2 separate regions of the Homo sapiens genome follow, and region 2 is linked to region 1. The links are contacts of gene promoters, found by promoter capture Hi-C in blood cells and fetal thymus (Javierre and others, 2016). All regions are on one chromosome and are shown on one strand. Each heading gives the region's core, a stretch centred on a gene start or on the middle of the fragment in contact. The rest is flanking DNA. Distances are from core to core; before and after follow the strand shown. Region 1 holds the start of PCGF6 (polycomb group ring finger 6). Region 2 overlaps SFXN2 (sideroflexin 2).

Region 1 (5,006 bases), core at 1,620-4,119:
GCTCTATACATATTTCTTAAAAGAATATGTAGTTCCCTTTTAATTTTGAGAGAGGTCAAGAGTTTTTTTGTTTTTTTTTTTTTTGAGATACTCTCATCAGTCTGTCGCCCAGGCTGGAATACAGTGGCACGATCTTGGCTCCTGCAACCTCTGCCTCCCAGGTTCAAGCGATTCTCCTGCCTCAACCTCCCAAGTAGCTGGGATTACAGGCATGTGCCGCCACTCCTGGCTAATAGTGGAGATGGGGTTTCACCATGTTGGCCAGGTTGGTCTTGAACTCCTGATCTGAAGTGATCCACTCACCTCGGCCTCCCAAAGTGCTGGGATTATGGCATTAGCCACTGAACCCATCCTGAGAGGTCAATAATTTATTCCAACTATATAACTTCAAGCTTTCAGAAAAAGTATATTTAAAATACAATTGTAATTTATATATTCTTCTTACCTTATGTTATAAAGAGGTTGTGTCTGATGTACTACTATATTGCATTTTGGACATCTGTTGCTGTAGTAAAAATGTCTTACGATGCAGCTTTTACAAACTGTTGAAAAAGAATGTTGAAGTCAGGATGCTTTCAAGACATTTCAAAAACTGAAAAATTATTCAGAAATGTGATCGGTATGCTTACAGGTATGAAGACATTCTGTGATGGTAGTTGCATCTATTAAGTAACCTTTGCAAATGGAACACAAGATGTATGGGGTCAGCTCAGAGAGATTAATCAGGCGCTGCAAATAAACGGAAACAGTTTTAAAATACAAGTCCTTGCCTTTTACAAATTCTTTTTTTTTTTTTGAGACAGAGTCTCACTCTGTAGCCCAAGCTGAGTGCAGTGATGTCATCTCGGTTCACTGCAACCTCCGCCTCCTGGATTAAAGCGATTCTCCTGTCTCAGCCTCCCGAGTAGCTGGGATTACAGGCGCGCACAACCACGCCTGGCTAATTTTTGTATTTTTAGTAGAGATGGGGTTTCACCATGTTGGCCAGGCTGGTCTCGAACCCCTGGCCTCAGGTGATCCACCCGCCAAGGCCTCCCAAAGTGCTAGGATTACAAGCATGAGCCACCGCGCTCAGTCCACCTTCTTCAAAACCTTAAACCATAATCTCAAAATGTCATTGCAACATGGAAACATACACCTCCAACCCATTAAAAGACTACTGAAAGTTACAATAATAACACAATATAAATTATTGTTTCTTTCTTTCCGTTTTTTTTTTTTTTTTTTTGAGAGGGAGTCTGCCTCTGTCGCCCAGACTGGAGTGCAGCGGCAAGATCTCGGCTCACTGCAACCTCCGCCTCCCAGATTCAAGTGATTCTCCTACCTCAGCCTCCTGAGTAGCTGAGATTACAGGCGCGTGCCACCACGCCCCGCTACTTTTTGTATTTTCAGTAGAGAAGGGGTTTCACCGCTTTGGTCAGGCTGAACTCCTGACCTCGTGTTTCGCCTGCCTCGGCCTCCCAAAGTGCGGGGATTATAGGCGTGAGCCACACCGCGCCCAGCCAAATTATTGTTTCAAAAGGATCTTTACGCTGGGCGCAGTGGCTCACGCCTGTAATCCCAGCACTTTGGGAGGCCGAGGCGGGCGGATCACGAGGTCAGGAGATCGAGACCATCCTGGCTAACACGGTGAAACCCCGTCTCTACTAAAAATACAAAAAATAAGCCGGGCGTGGTGGCGGGCGCCTTGTAGTCCCAGCTACTCTAAAGGCTGAGGCTGGAGAATCGCTTGAACCTGGGAGGCGGAGGTTGCAGTGAGCCGAGATCGCGCCACTGCACTCCAGCCTGGGCGACAGAGCGAGACTCCGTCTCAAAAACAAAACAAAACAAAACAAAACAAAAGGATCTTTACTGCCTAGTAAGCAGTAGCTTCAATAATTATACAGGACAGGCAACGTGGCTCACGCATGTAATCTTTCGGAAGGCCAGAGAGGGAGAATCTCTTGAACCCAGGAGTTCGAGAACAGCCTGGGAACATAGGGAGCCCTCCTCGCTACAAAAAAAAAAAAAAATGTTTAATTAGCCCGGCGTGGTGGCGCGTGCCTGTAGTCCCAGCTACTCCGGAGGCTGAGGCGGGAGGATCGCCTGAGGCCAGGAGTTGGAGGCTGCAGTGAGCCATGGTCGCGCCACTGCACTCCAGCCTGGGAGACCCTGTCTCAAAATAATTATAATTATTAACAGAACGAATGAGTTGGACTCGCAGAGCCTAAGTGACCTGCAAGAACTTCACAAAATAAGCGGGTAAAGACCCAGGCCGGGCCGGAGGCCTGTCGGCGCCACACGCCTAGGCAGCCGGGGCAGAGGTCGGGGGAGGTCCGCTCCAGTGCTCCGCGCGGCGGCGGCGCACTAGGATCGGGCCGGCGCCCGGCAGACGAGGGCCAGCTACGTCCCTGACGCCGCTTGGGCCCAGCGGGGTCGCGCGGGGGCTCTAAATACCTCCTCCTCGTCCTCCGAGTCCTGCCGGCCTCCCTCCAGCCTCAACGAGAAGTGACTCATGTCCTCCTCCTCCTCCTCTTCTTCCTCCTCCAGCTCCTCTTCTTCTTCCAACTCCTCGTCCTCGTCCTCGAAGCGGCCTCTGAAGCGGCCCAGGCTGCGCTCCGGCTCCAGCTCAGGGGGCCGGGAGCCGGAGCAGCCGGGAGCCCCCGTCTCAGACAGAGGCGCCGGTCCCTCCTCACCCGCTGCGGGTGCAGGGGTGAGGGCGGGCGGGGAGACAGGAGGCGGAGGCGGCAAGGCTGCAGCTCCCTCGGTTTTGGCAGCGCCTACGCTGCCCGCCGTCACCACCGCGACCCCCTCCATGGTCGGGAGAGACACCAGGCGAGGCGAGGCGGCGGGAGAGCGCGGGAGTTCGGCCGGCCTCGGACGCCACCACTGCGCAGGCGCGGCAGCCTGAGGGGCTCGCCGGGAAATGTGGTTTAGCGGCCCTCACCTCCGCGGGGCGCAAACCCTGCAGCTCCGGGGCAGGCTGCGGGGCGCGCGGGCCGCACTTTAAAGGAATCTCACCAGATTTTCTCCTTGGAAGGGGACGCTCTCTTCGCCGCCTTTTAAAAACAGCAAAATTGCTACCGTTCCAAGCAACAATATTCTGTTTGCATCACCTAATTCACAGAGCACTGAACTAGGTAGCATGTGACGTTGCATCACAAATAATAATCATTTCCACTTGAGTACCAATTATGCATTTCCTCTGTGGCAAATCACCTCCATCCAAGATTATTTCCCTTAGGAAGTATAAAGTTCCTGTTCTGAAGTATGTACGTTTATTTATTTTAAGGAATTATATAGTGTATTGATACAAGGTGAAAATCTAATCACTACTCAAAGATCATCCATGTCACCCCATCCCATAAAGCCCATTATATTGAATTCGAAAAGCTTTTTTTTTTTTTTTTTGAGACAGTTTCGCTCTTGTCGCTCAGGCAGGAGTGCAGTGGCGCTCACTTGCAACCTCCGCCTCCCGGGTCCAAGCGATTCTGCCTCAGGCTCCCAAGCAGCTGGGACTACTGGCGCCTGCCACCACGCCCAGCTAACTTTTGTATTTTCAGTAGAGACAGGGTTTCACCATGTTGACCAGGCTAGTCTCAAACTTCTGATCTCAGGTGATCCACCCGCCTCAGCCTCCCAAAGTGTTGGGTTACAGGCCTGAGCCAGGGCGCCGGGCCCAACAAACATTTATTGAGGGCCTACTGTAGCAGAAACTCAGACCCACCCAGGTACAACCCACCCCATTGCCCAATTTTATTAAGAGAGGTTTGGAGTTGGCTTAACATTATTCTTGCTAGTCCGGGCGCGGTGGCTCACACCTGTAATCCCAGCACTTTGGGAGGCCGAGGCGCGCAGATCATGAGGTCAGGAGTTCAAGACCAGCCTAGCCAACATGGTGAAACCCCGTCTCTACTAAAAATACAAAAATTAGCTGGGCATGGTGGCGCGTGCCTGTAATCCCAGCTACTTGGGAGGCTAAGGCAGAAGAATCACTTGAGCCCAGGAGGCGGAGCTTGCAGTGAGCTAAGATCGTGCCACTGCACTCCAGCCTGGGCTACAGAGTGAGACTCCATCTCAAAACAAAACAAAACAAAACAAAACAAAACAAAAAACAAAAAAACCATTATCCTTGCTAAGATAATGCCAGCTAATGTCACGATGCCTGCAAGAAAGATTCGGGAAGTCAAATGCTCCTAATCAAATAATGCCTGGCAAAGTCACATTTAAGAGCTGAATGTGACCAGGCACAGTGGCTCCCGCCTGTAATCCCAGCACTTTGGGAGGCTGAGGCAAGCGGATTGCCTGAGGTTGGGAGTTAGAGACCAGCCTGACCAACATGGAGAAACCCCATCTCTACTAAAAATACAAAATTAGCCGGGCATGGTGGCGCATGCCTGTAATCCCAGCTACTCGAGAGGCTGAGGCAGGAGAATCACTTGAACACAGACGAGGTGGAGGTTGCGGTGAGCCGAGATCACACCACTGCACTCCAGCCTGGGCAACAAGAGCAAGACTCCATCTCAAAAAAAAAATAAATTTTAAAAATATGGCCAAGCGAGGTGGCTCATGCCTGTAATCCCAATGCTTTGGGAGGCTGAGTTGGGCGGGTAACGAGGTCAGGAGTTTGAGACCAGCCTGACCAACATGGTGAAACTCCATCTCTACTAAAAATACGAAAATTAGCCGGGCATGGTGGTGCACACTTGTAATCCCAGCTACTCAGGAGGCTGAGGCAGGAGAATCACTTGAACCCGGGAGGCGAAGGTTGCAGTGAGCCGAGATCGCACCACTGCACCCCAGCCTGGGCGACAGAGTGAGACTCCGTCTCAAAAAATTAAAATACAATAAAATAAAATAAAATAGCTGAATGTGTGCCAGGGGTGGTAGCTCATTGCCAGCCTGGGCGCCAGAGCGAGACCCGGTCTAACAACAACAAAAAAAAGAAAATGCTGAATGTGTTGTCTAGGGAATTGATGAGGAAATCAAGTCATGGTGTTTCCTTGGGGAACAGTGAACCAAGTTAA
Region 2 (5,006 bases), core at 1,261-3,760, 610 kb before region 1:
AGACTAGGGGGTGGAGGGTGACTGACCCCAGGAGACAAGTGTAGCTTGAATATATACCCAGACAATTCCAGTCTCCCCTTCCTCAGTACTCTAGTTCAATACTACTTCCATGGTCATCTGCTAGACATCTCTTGTGTCCCAAGCACTGTGTTTGTAATCTTGTGGAGAAGATGGAAGTTGAAACGAAGAACCATAGCCCAAGGAGAATGAAGTCAGGCCTGCGTAATGGTAAAGCAACATTGTGGTATACAGAGGCCAATAATAATCCTAGATGGAAAAATCAGGAGGGCTTCTTGGAGGTGATATTCATCTGAGGGTAACTTACTGCTTGTTCCTGGTGGCATGCTCATAATCCACTTCTCTCTTTTCAGTGAATTGCCAGTTTCCTATCTGGAACCGAAGCTCCAAGACACTATCAAGGCCAAGTATGGAGAACTTGAGCCTTATGTCTACTTCAATAAGGGTCTCTAAATGCCCCACTTCAGCAAGGACCAGTCTATTCCCATATTCACCAGCTCCTCCTTAGCTACGTGCACACTTGTGTCCTCCTTCCCCTTTGCCAACAAGGCCTGAAGGCCAGGGTAGATTGGGGGGTGGGACAATGAATGCCTCATACTTACACCCTGGTACTGGTTGATTGGACCTCAGGGGAAAAAAGTGAAAAAGGGTAGCAAAGGCCAATGTCTTCTAGCTGCTTCCTCAACCCCTGTCCCCTGGAGACCAGAAGCTGAGGCCCTCTCAGGGAGGAGACATCCAAGCAAATCATTTGGAAAAGTTAGGAAACCTTTAGGATTCTGGTTCCAGCCAGGGTTGAGGAAAAGACCTTGGATCAAAAGGAAGCTTCTATACCTCTTTCTTCTTCGCTTCCTCCTCTCCCAAGCAATGGAAACTTTTACCCATGTAATTCTAGCTGAACTCAGGAAAAAGAAGGGGGAAAGGACTCTGTCCCCTTGGGGCTCATCACCCTTCCACATCCTCCTCCTCGTTGCCCCCTGGTCAGGCAGCTTCTTTTTTTTTTTTTTCAAGATGGAGTCTTGCTCTGTCGCCCAGGCTGGAATGCAGTGGCGCGATCTCGGCTCACTGCAAACTCTGCCTCCTGGATTCAAGCGATTCTCCTGCCTCAGCCTCTCAAGTAGCTGGGATTACAGGGCACCTGCCACCACGCCTGGCTAATTTTTGTATTTTAGTGGAGACGGGGTTTCACCATGCTGGCCAGACTGGTCTCGAACTCCTGACCTCAGGTGATCCGCCCGCCTCAGCCTCTGAAATTGCTGGGATTACAGGCATGAGCCACCACACCCAGCCCGGACAGCTTCTTTGGGAGTGCTGCTAACCTTGAAATTATCAGACACTTAGGAGTTATTAGTGCTAAAAAGGGGACCGTGCAAGGCAGCAGAGTTACATGGTTCTTCAAATCATGTCTGAACCTATTCTTGGAATCTTCTCTATAATAAGGGAAGTTCTCTTACCCCACTGCCACATACCTCTGTTTTAAAAGATAAGTCCACTAACTGTGAGTAAAAATGATATATATAGGCATTAACCACACACTTTAATGGGTATAATTTCCTGGCTGCCTCCCTTCCTCAGCCCATTAGGTTAAACACCAAAGAAAGACTGGTGTGTACTGAATAGGAAAGGGAAGTTTTATTTGGAACCTTCTAAGAGGAAATCAACCAGGACCAAAGAGCCTTAAAGGACACACAGCAATGCACAGCCACTTCCCTTCCCCAGCTTGGCTGCCCTAGGTGATTTCTCAAGCTCCTTGGGGGACTGTTGTTTCTCATCTGGAATCAATGTGTGTATGAGTTTTGTCTGGTAGGATTGCTGACTCTGTCCAACAGATATCACTGTGAATTGAATAAATTTGTTGAAAGAGCACACAGGCACACATACACACAAACTGTAAACTAAGTTAATGAAGCCTGAATGGAAAGCAGGATCTGGCCTTACTTTGGCCTTGGCATGTCAGAAGGTATCACAACTACTATATAAGGGGAACTTGTCTGATGCCTGGAGGCTGTTGTTTATTTCCCTCATTAAAGGGGAAATCCACCTGTCTCCACAGGAAGCTCCAGATCTCCCAGAATGGGAGCTGTGTTGCCCTAGAGCAAGAGTTGGCAAGCTATGGCTCAAGGGGCCAAATCCACCTGCCACCTGTTTTTGTGCAATTGGAAGCTAAGAATGTTTTTACATTTTTAAAGAGTTGTAAAAGGGAACAACAGGAATGACAGAGACCCTACCTATGTGGCATACAAAGCCTAAAATATTTACTGTCTGATCCTTGACACAAAAAGTTTCCCCTGCCCTGGAGCAGTGGTTCTTAAGCACATGCATCAACCGGGCGCAGTGGCTCATGCCTGTAATCCCCACACTTTGGGAGGCCGAGGCAGGTGGATCACCTGAGGTCAGGAGTTCGAGACCAGCCTGATCAACATGGTGAAACCCGATCTCTACTAAAAATACAAAAAATTTGCTGGGTGTGGTGGCATACACCTGTAATCCCAGCTACTCGGGGGGCTGAGACTGGAGAATCACTTGAACCTGGGAGGTGGAGGTTGTGGTGAGCCAAGATTGCGCCACTGCACTCCAACCTGGGCGACTCCGTCTCAAAAAAAAAAAAGAAAACACATCAGAATTAGCTGGCAGGCTTGTTAAAGCACAGATTGCAGGATCCATTGCCAGATTCTGTCACTCTGGGCTGGAGCCTGAGAACGTGCATTTCTAGTCATTGCCCGGTGATGCTGATTCTGTTGGTCTTGGCACCATACGTGGAGGAGCACTGCTCTAAGGGGAAAGGGCCTCCTCCCCGAGGCCAAGGAATTCACTGCAACTTGATTTTTCTCCCCGTTTAAAAAAGTTAAAATATAACTCACATACCATAAACTTAGTCCTTTTAAAGTGTACAATTCAGTGGTTTTTAATGTAGTCACAAAGTTGTACAAGCATCACCACTAATTCCAGAATTATTTTGAGACAGGATCTCACTCTGTTACCCTGGTTGGAGTGCAGTAGTGCAATCACTGCTCATTGCAGCCTCAACCTCCTGAGCTCAAGTAATCCTCCTGCCTCAGCCTCTGGGGTAGCTGGGACCACAGGCTAATTTGATTTTTTTGATGAGGTCTCACTATGTTGCCCCAGGCTGGTCTCGAACTCATGGCCTCAAGTGATCCTCCTCCCTCAGCCTTCCAAAGTGTTGGAATTACACACATGAGCCACTGCATCTGGTCTCAGAACATTTTTCTTAGCCCCAAAAGAAACCCCATACCCATTGGCAGTCACTCCACATTCTCCCTACCTGCCAGCGCCTCACAATTCACTTCCTGTCTTTAGAGATTTGCGTATTCTGAACATTTCATGTAAGTGGAGTAATGCAGTATGTGGCCCTCTGTGTCTGGTTTCTTTCCTTAGGATAATGTTTTCAAGGTTCATCCATGTTGTAGCATATGCAATTTGATTTTAGCTGGTGTCTGAACAGAAAAGTCTGTCTTTGAGCTAGCTTCTTTAGGACAGGAGACCTGGCTTTATTTCCAAAAGCAAATAGGAAAAGGGAAACATTACCAGAGCCAGTAGAGCTTGGAAACAACTCCTGACTGATGTTCTTTCAGAACATACAATGTTTCCCCTTCCTTCTCAGCTCCTCAAGCCTCTTGGATTTCCTGTTCTCTTATAGACAACTGCTCTTTTGGAAATGTCTGGAAGGTATGTGGTGGCTATAATGTTCAGGGACATTCTAAAAAGTGGTCACTCAAACTGCATCTCAGTCTCATTTTGTAACATCTCTCTTCTTTGAGTTGGCTGCTGTGGGATGTTGAATAAGAGGCAGTTAAGGTTACTAAAAGGCCTTGGTGTGGGAAGTGCTAATCCAGACTGTCCTATCCAATAGCTCAGCTTGAGCTTTCAGGTAAAAGGAGAAAGGGAAGTTGGGGCAAAATCCCCTGTGTTTGCCAAACTGAATTGGGGTTTCTTATTTATTGAGAGAAAGAGGGTATCACTTTCTTGCCCAGGCTGGAGTGCAATGGTATGATCATGACTCATTGCTTCCTCAGCCTCCTGGACTCAAGTGATCCTCCTGCCTTAGCCTCCCGAGTAGCTTCTTTTTCCTGAGTTCGGCTAGAATAGCATGGGTAAAAGGTTCCATTGCTCGGGAGAGGAGGAGGAAGGGAAGAAGAAGAGGTATAGAAGCTTCCTTTTGATCCAAGGTCTTTTCCTCAATCCTGGCTAGAACCAGAATCCTAAAGGTTTCCTGACTACAGGTACATGCCACCATGCCCAGCTAATTTTTAAATTTTTTGTAGACAGAGGGCCTCACTATGTTTCCCAGGTTGGTCTTGAACCCCTGACCTCAAGCAATCCTCATGCCTTGGCCTCCCAAAGTGTTGGGATTACAGGCGTGAGCCACTACATCCCACCTGGGGTTTCTTAGTGATGATGAAACCTAGCCTTTATGTGGAAGACTTACAACTTTTTGAGGCCAGGAATTAGAGACCTTGTGCCATGAAAATAATTTGGTCCTTCCCTAGTACTCAATTTTTACTTCTCCTCTAAGGAGCTTGACTTGTGGAATGGATAAATTTCTAAGAAACGAGAGATTGGCAAAAATACGTGTCACTTTTTATAGTACTTGGAAAAGCAGGATCAAGATAAAGGCAGAACTATGGACTTTCTTAAGCTGAGGGAAGACTGACTTAACTCTTACCTGTTTCCCATTTTTCCAACACTTAAGCCAAGAACAACTTCCTCTGGGCTCAGATGTGGGCTAGACTGGGCCAGGCTGTAAAACACTTTGACAGGTTTTTGAGAGGAAATTGACTGCTAAAGTCAACTGTGTTATTTGCCATGGGTCTTCCTTTGTCCATTTATTTTACCAACTTTTTTTTTTCTTTTTTTTTTGAGACAGAGTCTCACTCTGTCACCTAGGGTGGAGTGCAGTGGCACAGTCTTGGCTCACTGCAACCTCTGCCTCCCAGGTTCAAGCGATTCTTCTGCTTTAGCCTCCTGAGTAG

Evidence for each region. Contacts are between HindIII fragments. The CHiCAGO score rates a contact against its expected background, and 5 or more counts as called.
Region 2: a fragment that was not itself captured here is called in contact with the fragment with the promoter of PCGF6 in region 1 in 1 of 17 cell types (M0 macrophages); the score reaches 5.1 in M0 macrophages.

What each region holds. Positions count from the first base shown.
Region 1 is chr10:103,348,271-103,353,276 of GRCh38, forward strand. PCGF6 (polycomb group ring finger 6) reads right to left here and starts at 2,870. Exons shown (of 10, transcript NM_001011663.2): 1 at 2,437-2,870; 2 at 630-729; 3 at 446-542. The coding sequence starts at 2,796. RefSeq lists an enhancer at 2,098-2,603 and a silencer at 2,769-2,998. The HindIII fragment of the contact is 2,980 bases long and covers 391-3,370 here.
Region 2 is chr10:102,737,292-102,742,297 of GRCh38, forward strand. SFXN2 (sideroflexin 2) reads left to right here. Exons shown (of 12, transcript NM_178858.6): 12 at 372-5,006. The coding sequence ends at 471. Among named protein-coding and RNA genes, the nearest start is that of WBP1L, 4.2 kb to the right of the region's middle. The HindIII fragment of the contact is 3,345 bases long and covers 839-4,183 here.